Regions from separate parts of the Homo sapiens genome. Here region 1 is linked to region 2. Evidence: promoter capture Hi-C in 16 types of primary human blood cells and fetal thymus (Javierre and others, 2016). All regions are on one chromosome and are shown on one strand. The core of a region is centred on a gene start or on the middle of the fragment in contact, and the rest is flanking DNA. Distances in the headings are between cores, read along the strand shown.

Evidence for each region. Contacts are between HindIII fragments. The CHiCAGO score rates a contact against its expected background, and 5 or more counts as called.
Region 1: the fragment with the promoter of KDELR1 here is called in contact with the fragment with the promoter of SPACA4 in region 2 in 2 of 17 cell types (M0 macrophages and monocytes); the score reaches 6.7 in M0 macrophages.

The regions. Positions count from the first base shown.
Region 1 is chr19:48,389,487-48,393,282 of GRCh38, forward strand. KDELR1 (KDEL endoplasmic reticulum protein retention receptor 1) reads right to left here and starts at 2,065. Exons shown (of 5, transcript NM_006801.3): 1 at 1,782-2,065; 2 at 938-1,038; 3 at 67-225. The coding sequence starts at 1,872. RefSeq lists an enhancer at 892-1,031 and a silencer at 1,902-2,221. The HindIII fragment of the contact is 34,435 bases long and covers 1-3,796 here.
Region 2 is chr19:48,605,127-48,608,894 of GRCh38, forward strand. SPACA4 (sperm acrosome associated 4) reads left to right here and starts at 1,616. Exons shown (of 1, transcript NM_133498.3): 1 at 1,616-2,588. The coding sequence starts at 1,853. The coding sequence ends at 2,227. The region is part of intron 5 of FAM83E (family with sequence similarity 83 member E); the gene reads right to left. The HindIII fragment of the contact is 9,007 bases long and covers 1,432-3,768 here.

The DNA.
Region 1 (3,796 bases), core at 815-3,314, 220 kb before region 2:
GTCTCCTGTCATAGCTACTCTGCCACAACCATCCCCCCAAATAAGGAGTCACAGCAAGGCGCCTACCTCCAGAGGGGTGAAGTCATGATTGACCAGGAACGCCAGAATGGCTGTGGGAACGACCAGGAACTCCACTCTGAACGTGTCATGGTTCCCATCGTAAGTAGCTTTGAACTTGCTATAAATCAACCAGACCGTGGTGAAGGAGCAGGCTATGTAGACCACCTGAGGAGGGGGATGATGAGAAGGGGCCTCAACTCACAGGCCTGTGCCCCAGTAGGCTCAGAGCCCGGAGTCCAGGCCCCTCCCTCAGACGCAGGAGTCCAGACCCCCAACCCCTCCTCCCTCAGACCCAGGAGTCCAAGCCCCCAGCCCCTCCTCCCTCAGACCCAGGAGTCCAGGCCCCCAACCCCTCCTCCCTCAGATCCAGGAGTCCAAGCCCCCAGCCCCTCCTCCCTCAGACCCAGGAGTCCAGGCCCCCAACCCCTCCTCCCTCAGACCCTGGAGTCCAGGCCCCCAGCCCCTCCTCCCTCAGACCCAGGAGTCCAGGGCCCCATTCCCTCCTCCCTCAGATCCAGGAGTCCAGGCCCAGCCCCTCCTCCCTCAGACCCAAGAGTCCAGGCCCAGCCCCTCCTCCCTCAGACCCAGGAGTCCAGGCCCCAGTCCCTTCCTCCCTCAGACCCAAAAGTCCAGGCCCCCGGCCCCTCCTCCCTCAGACCCAGGAGTCCAGACCCCCAACCCCTCCTCCCTCAGACCCAGGAGTCCAGGCCTCAGTCCCTTCTTCCCTCAGACCCAAGAGTCCAGGCCCCCGGCCCCTCCTCCCTCAGACCCAGGAGTCCAGGCCCCCAGCCCCTCCTCCCTCAGACCTAGGAGTCTGGGACCCACACCCGGCTCCTCTGCCTCAGTGGGGGCCAGAGAGGTGGGGTGGAGCCTCTACCTTCATACACGTGTTGTAGAGTGAGATGTAGTTGGTGAAGAGGTCCAGATATCGGGCAGTGAACACCACAGCAAACAGGACCTGGCTCTTCCCTGAAATTCCTGTGGTCCAGAGACAGAGAAAGAGAGAGAGAGAGAGACAGAGAGAGAGAGAGAGACAGACAGACAGACAGACAGACAGAAGGAGAGAGGAAGCTGGGGGTGGGCTGCATGGGCAATAAACTAAGGCAGGGCGCCCGGGACCAGCCTGGAGGCAGCTCTGGAGTGCAGCTGTCCCCGGAGGCCTCCCCAGCCCGCCCCGCCTGAGCAGGGCCCTTTCCCACGGACCACAGCCAGGGGGCAGCCCAGGCCCCCGAAGCTACTCCAGCCCGAGGCTCCGTCCCAGACTAGGCCTCATGGCTACCCCTGGCCCCTCAGGGTCCTCCCGCAGTCTGGACCTGAGGTGAGGCCTAGGGAGGACCTTCCCTGACCTCAGGCCCCGGATCCGGTCACCTCCCTCCCGTTCCCTTCCTGGCCGCCACGGTCCACGTCACCAACTCACAGCCACCTCCCCGCCTGCCATGGTTCCCTGTTCCCGGTCCATGAACCCTCGGGCTGCCCAGATTGGGGCTGGGGGTGGCTGAATTGGGGGCCTAAAGCCATTCACATGAAACTGTATGCACCCCCGCCAGTCTGGGGAAGGGAGCTGATCCCCTGGAGACCCAGAACCTAGAAGAGAGATCCCCAGCAAGCAGTGGGGGTGGAACCTGTGCCCCTAGTGCCCCCAAACCCTTCCTGAGTCCTGCGACGTCCCCCAACCCCCGCCCGCAATCTCTCTCCTTCGCCAGCCCTGGTGGGCCTCTCACCGGCGCACGAGCGGGACTTCCAGATTTTGAGCAGTAGCAAGATGATGGCGAGGAGGTGGGAGAGGTCTCCCAGGAATCGGAAGAGATTCATGGCTGGGGAACCCTGGCAGGGCTGAGCGGGAGGGAGGCAGGCTGGCGGGGGGGTGCCCCCCGAGGCTGCTGGTCTGAACGGGTAGCTGGGCTGGGGGGACGGAAGAGGGACCCTAGGTGCGCTCCGCTCCGGGGAGGGGACTTTGGGAGGGGGAGCAAAGGCTGGAGCTGGCGGCGGAGCTGGAGCCGGGAAGAGGGAGGAGAGCGAGAGGGGGAGGAGTCCGGGAGGAGAGGCTCCGCCCCCGAGGGCGGGGCCTGGATCCCCGGCGCCCCCTATCGCCCACCTCCTGCTTTGCCGTGGCGGCGCTAAACGCACCCCCAAAGCTGCCCCATAGGAACTTGGGAGGGTCGCAGGGTTCGGAAAGTGCCAAATCCAGCACCGGTTCGCCCAGGCAGTCTGTGTCTCTGGAAGAGACGCAGTCCAGTACACCAGCCTCAGCCCTTGCAGGGATGTAGAGACTGCCCTCTGAGCTTGAAAAATCCTGCAGGGACCCGGAGGCTCAGCTGCTAGCTTTTGCAGCTTTCAGGCACTCTAACTCCAATCCCCCAGAAGACAAGAAAGATACCCCACCTACTTCCTCCCCTAGACCCAGGACTCAAGGCCCCAGCCCGTTCGTCAAACCCAGAAGTCTGGGTCCCCAGCCCCTCCTCCCTCAGACCCAGGAGTCCAGACCCCCAGCCTCTCCTCCCTCAGACCCAGAAGTCCAGACCCCCAGCCCCTCCTCCCTCAGATCCAGGAGTCCAGGCCCAGCTCCTCCTCGCTCAGACCCAGGAGTCCAGGCCCCCAGCCTCCTCCCTCAGACCCAGGAGTCCAGGCCCCCAGCCTCCTCCCTCAGACCCAGGACTCCAGGCCCCCAGACCCTCCTCCCCCAGATCCAGGAGTCCAGGCCCCCAGCCCTTCCTCCCTCAGACCCAGGAGTCCAGACCCCCAGCACCTCCTCCCTCAGACCCAGGAGTCCAGATCCCCAGCCCCTCCTCCCTCAGACCCAGGGGTCCAGGGCCCCAGCCCCTCCTCCCTCAGACCCAGGGGTCCAGGGCCCCAGCCCCTCCTCCCTCAGACCCAGGGGTCCAGGGCCCCAGCCCCTCCTCCCTCAGACCCAGGAGTTCAGGGCCCCAGCCCTTTTCCCTCCTAGGACGCTGTTCCTTGGAACTTAGGGTCCCACCCCCACCATCTTATGGATCAAACATCCTAACCTTAAGAATCTAGATCTACAGTTTCTCCCTTTACGACCCACAGATTTAGGCCCTGATTCTCTTCTTTTTCAGGAATGTGCACCTCACCCTGTTCTCCCAGACCTTGAGGATGAAGGAAACAGGAGCCTCACCCAGGAGGCTCAAGGCCAAAACTCTGACCCAAACTACCTCAGGAGCCCCTGGCCCTGGCTTCCCCCCTGCTCCAGAGTTTCTGCCCTGCCCACACACACACACCCTCTTCCACCCTCAGAGGCCCCGGTGTCCTGCCCCACGCTCTACCCCAGAGCCCCACGGGTGGCTTTATAAAAGTGCCGGGCCCAGCCCTCTAGCAGGAGGGGAATGCTGGGCATCTGGGTGTGGGACCCCCGGGGAACAGCCTGTGGTCTGGACTCCTGCATCTATGAGGGGACAGACGTGGCTTCCCTTCCGGATGATGGGGTACCCACAGATGATGGAGGCCAGGGTCCCTCAATAAAAGAAGGGGTGCAGGCGTGTTGATTTCTTCAGAGGGCTGGAAGGACGGGGTGCCCAAGGGTGACATCCACGAGTCTTGGGTCCCTGAGGGTGGCTTGTACGGGGGAGAGTCGGGATGACTGAGTCCTTAAAAGAGACTCCGACTTGGAGGCGGTCCCCAAATTCCTGGGTCCCAGTAGAGAAGGGGACTCCTGGGTCTGAGGGAGGAGGGGCTGGGGGGTGGGACTCCTGGGACCAGGGTCGAGACCTGGTTTTCA
Region 2 (3,768 bases), core at 366-2,865:
TTGGAAAGAGACGGAATTCACTTCCGGACACTAACAGGGATTGTTTTAAGACCCAGCTGCTTCCTAGAATGACTGCCATTTAGTCAGTCCTGGCTGTGCACCAAGCTCTCCACGTTGCTGCTCCCTGCAGTGCTCATCTGCAATCTGGAGCAAAAACCTAGGAAGGCCGTGTGCAGTGGCTCATGCCTGTAATCCCAGCACTTTGGGAGGCCGAGGCAGGAGGATCACTTGAGGCTAGGAGTTTGAGACCAGCCTGGGCAACATAGCAAGACCCCATCTCTATAAAAAATTTTACAAAATTAGCCGGGCATGGTGGTGCACGCCTATAGTCCCAGCTACTCTGGAGGCTCAGGGAGGAGAATCACTTGAGCCTGGGAAGTTGAGGCTGCAGTGAGCCAAGATCGCGCCACTGCACTCCAGTCTAGGCAACAGAGCAAGATCCTATTTTTTTTTTTTTTTGAGATGGAGTCTTGCTCTATTGCCTAGGCTCAAGTGCAGTGGCACAATATTGGCTCACTGCAACCTCCACCTCCCAGGTTCAAGCCTCCCAAGTAGCTGGGATTACAGGTGCACACCACCATGCCCAGCAAATTTTTGTATTTTTAGTAGAGATGGGGTTTTACCACGTTGGCCATGCTGGTCTTGAACTCCTGAGCTCAGGTGATCCACCCGCCTCGGCCTCCCAAAGTGCTGGGATTACAGGCGTGAGCCACTGCGCCCGGCCAATTTTTTAAAATAAAAAATAAAATTAAGAAATAAATACAACATAGGAATATTCAAATGACTGAATTTGAATCAAGCCCCCTGCACGTAGCTGGCCCTGAGAGCCTGTGAGCTGTGGGGGCCGGTGCCCTAACACTTCCTGTCATCACAGTAGTTGTTATTGAAAGCACCAAGTGCCAGGCGTGGTGTGGTGGCTCACGTCTGTAATCCCAGCACTTTGGGAGGTCGAGGCGGGCAGATCACTTGAGCTCAAGAGTTCGCAACCAGCCTGGCCTACATGGTGAAACCCTGTCTCTACTAAAAATACAAAAATTAGCCAGATGTGGTTGCATGCGCCTGCAGTCCCAGCCACTCGGGAGGCTGAGTTACGAGAATCGCTTGAAGCTGGGAAGCAGAAGCTGCAGTGAGCTGAGATCACGCCACTGCACTCCAGCCTGGGTGACAGAGTGAGAGACTCCGTCTCAAAAAAATAAAAGCAAGCAAGCACTGAGCATGAATCCTGGCACACAGCAAGTGCTCAGTTAATACACCCTCTTCTTTCCCAGCCTCTTTGGAATTCAATGAACCTGGCTCTCATCCTGGCTCGGGGACCCTGGATACATCACTTTCCCCAGCCTTAGTTTACCCATCTGGAATATGGGGTCACTATGGGAGGTGTGAGGCTGAAGTCAAGCCCTTGGCGGGTGTACAGCACAGAGAATGCGGACAAGCTTGTGGCCAGCGTCCTCTGGGTTCAGGGCGTCTTCACCTTGGCAGGGATGGCAGAGCCCTCTTGCGCCCCGGCAGGTCGGCGGGGCAGGCCACCCCTTGGATTGTGACACCCACTCCTCTCACCTATGACCTCATCCCCAGAGCGGCCAGTGGGAACCCTGAGGGATCTGTGAGATCACTCATTCCATTCACAGACTCTTGTTGGGCAGCAGCCACCCGCTCACCTCCATCCCCAGGACTTAGAGGGACGCAGGGCGTTGGGAACAGAGGACACTCCAGGCGCTGACCCTGGGAGGCCAGGACCAGGGCCAAAGTCCCGTGGGCAAGAGGAGTCCTCAGAGGTCCTTCATTCAGCGGTTCCGGGAGGTCTGGGAAGCCCACGGCCTGGCTGGGGCAGGGTCAACGCCGCCAGGCCGCCATGGTCCTGTGCTGGCTGCTGCTTCTGGTGATGGCTCTGCCCCCAGGCACGACGGGCGTCAAGGACTGCGTCTTCTGTGAGCTCACCGACTCCATGCAGTGTCCTGGTACCTACATGCACTGTGGCGATGACGAGGACTGCTTCACAGGCCACGGGGTCGCCCCGGGCACTGGTCCGGTCATCAACAAAGGCTGCCTGCGAGCCACCAGCTGCGGCCTTGAGGAACCCGTCAGCTACAGGGGCGTCACCTACAGCCTCACCACCAACTGCTGCACCGGCCGCCTGTGTAACAGAGCCCCGAGCAGCCAGACAGTGGGGGCCACCACCAGCCTGGCACTGGGGCTGGGTATGCTGCTTCCTCCACGTTTGCTGTGACCAACAGGGAGGACAGGGCCTGGGACTGTTCTCCCAGATCCGCCACTCCCCATGTCCCCATGTCCTTCCCCCACTAAATGGCCAGAGAGGCCCTGGACAACCTCTTGCGGCCCTGGCTTCATCCCTTCTAAGGCTGTCCACCAGGAGCCCGGTGCTAGGGGAAGCATCCCCAGGCCTGACTGAGCGGCAGGGGAGCACGGCCCGTGGGTTTGATTGTATTACTCTGTTCCACTGGTTCTAAGACGCAGAGCTTCTCACATCTCAATCAGGATGCTTCTCTCCATTGGTAGCACTTTAGAGTCCATGAAATATGGTAAAAAATATATATATATCATAATAAATGACAGCTGATGTTCATGGAGCATTCTTTGTTTTCTTTTCTTTTTCTTTTCCTTTTTTTTTTTTTCTTTTTGTAGAGATAAGGTCCAGCTATGTTGCCCAGGGTGGTCTCGGATTCTTGGGCTCAAGTGATCCTCCCACCTCAGCCTCCCAAAGTGCTGGGATTACAGGTATGAGCCACGGCACCTGGCCAAGCCTGTCTTACGTTACGTGCCACTGAATCCTCACACCAAGCTGGGAAGGTAAACACTCTTTCAAACATTTCAAACATCCTGGTCTCAACTCCAATCATTCTCAAAGTGTGGTCCCTGGACCAGAAACAGCAGCAGCAGCAAGTGGGAACTTCCTGAAAATGCAGATTCTCAGGTCCTGTTCCAGGCACGATGAATGGCAGTGGGGTCCAAAAGCTGTGTATTGTTCTCTCTTTTTCTTTTTGAAACAGGGTTTTGCTCTGCTGCCCAGGCTGGAGTGCAGTGGTGCAATCTTGGCTCATTGCAGCCTCTACCTCCTGGGCTCAAGCAATCCTCCCACCTCAGCCTCCTGAGTAGCTGGGACTAGAAGCATGCTCCATCATGTCTAATTTTTATTTTTTTAAATTTTTGTAGAGATGGGGTCCTGCTATGTTGCCCAGGCTGGTCTTGAAGTCCTGGGCTCAAGCGATCCTCCTGCCTCAGCCTCCCAAAGTGCTGGGACTACAGACATGAACCACCACGCCTGGCCTTTTTCCGTTTTCTTTTTCTTTTCCTTTTTTTTTTTTTTTTTTATTTTTTGAGACAGAGTCTCGCTCGGTCACCCAGGCTTTAGTGCAGTGGCGCGATCTTGGCTCACTGCAACCTCCACCTCCCAGGTTCTAGCGATTCTCCTGCCTCAGCCTCCCGAGTAGCTGGGACTAGAGATGCATTCCACCAGGCCCGGCTGATTTTTTGTATTTTTAGTAGAGACAGGGTTTCCCCATGTTAATCAGGCTGGTCTGAAACTCCTGACCTCGGGTGATCCACCTGCCTCGGCCTCCCAAAGTGCTGGGATTACAGGTGTGAGCCACCACGCCCAGCCCAAAAGCTGTGTTTTAACAAGCGCTCCCAGGGATTCTGGTGCATGCACAGGGTTGAAAGCCACTGTTCCTGAGCAGTGTTCTCAGCTGGGCACCTGTGCTCCCCAGTGGGCATCTGCGCTGTCTGGAGAGGTTTTCGGTTCTCTAATTG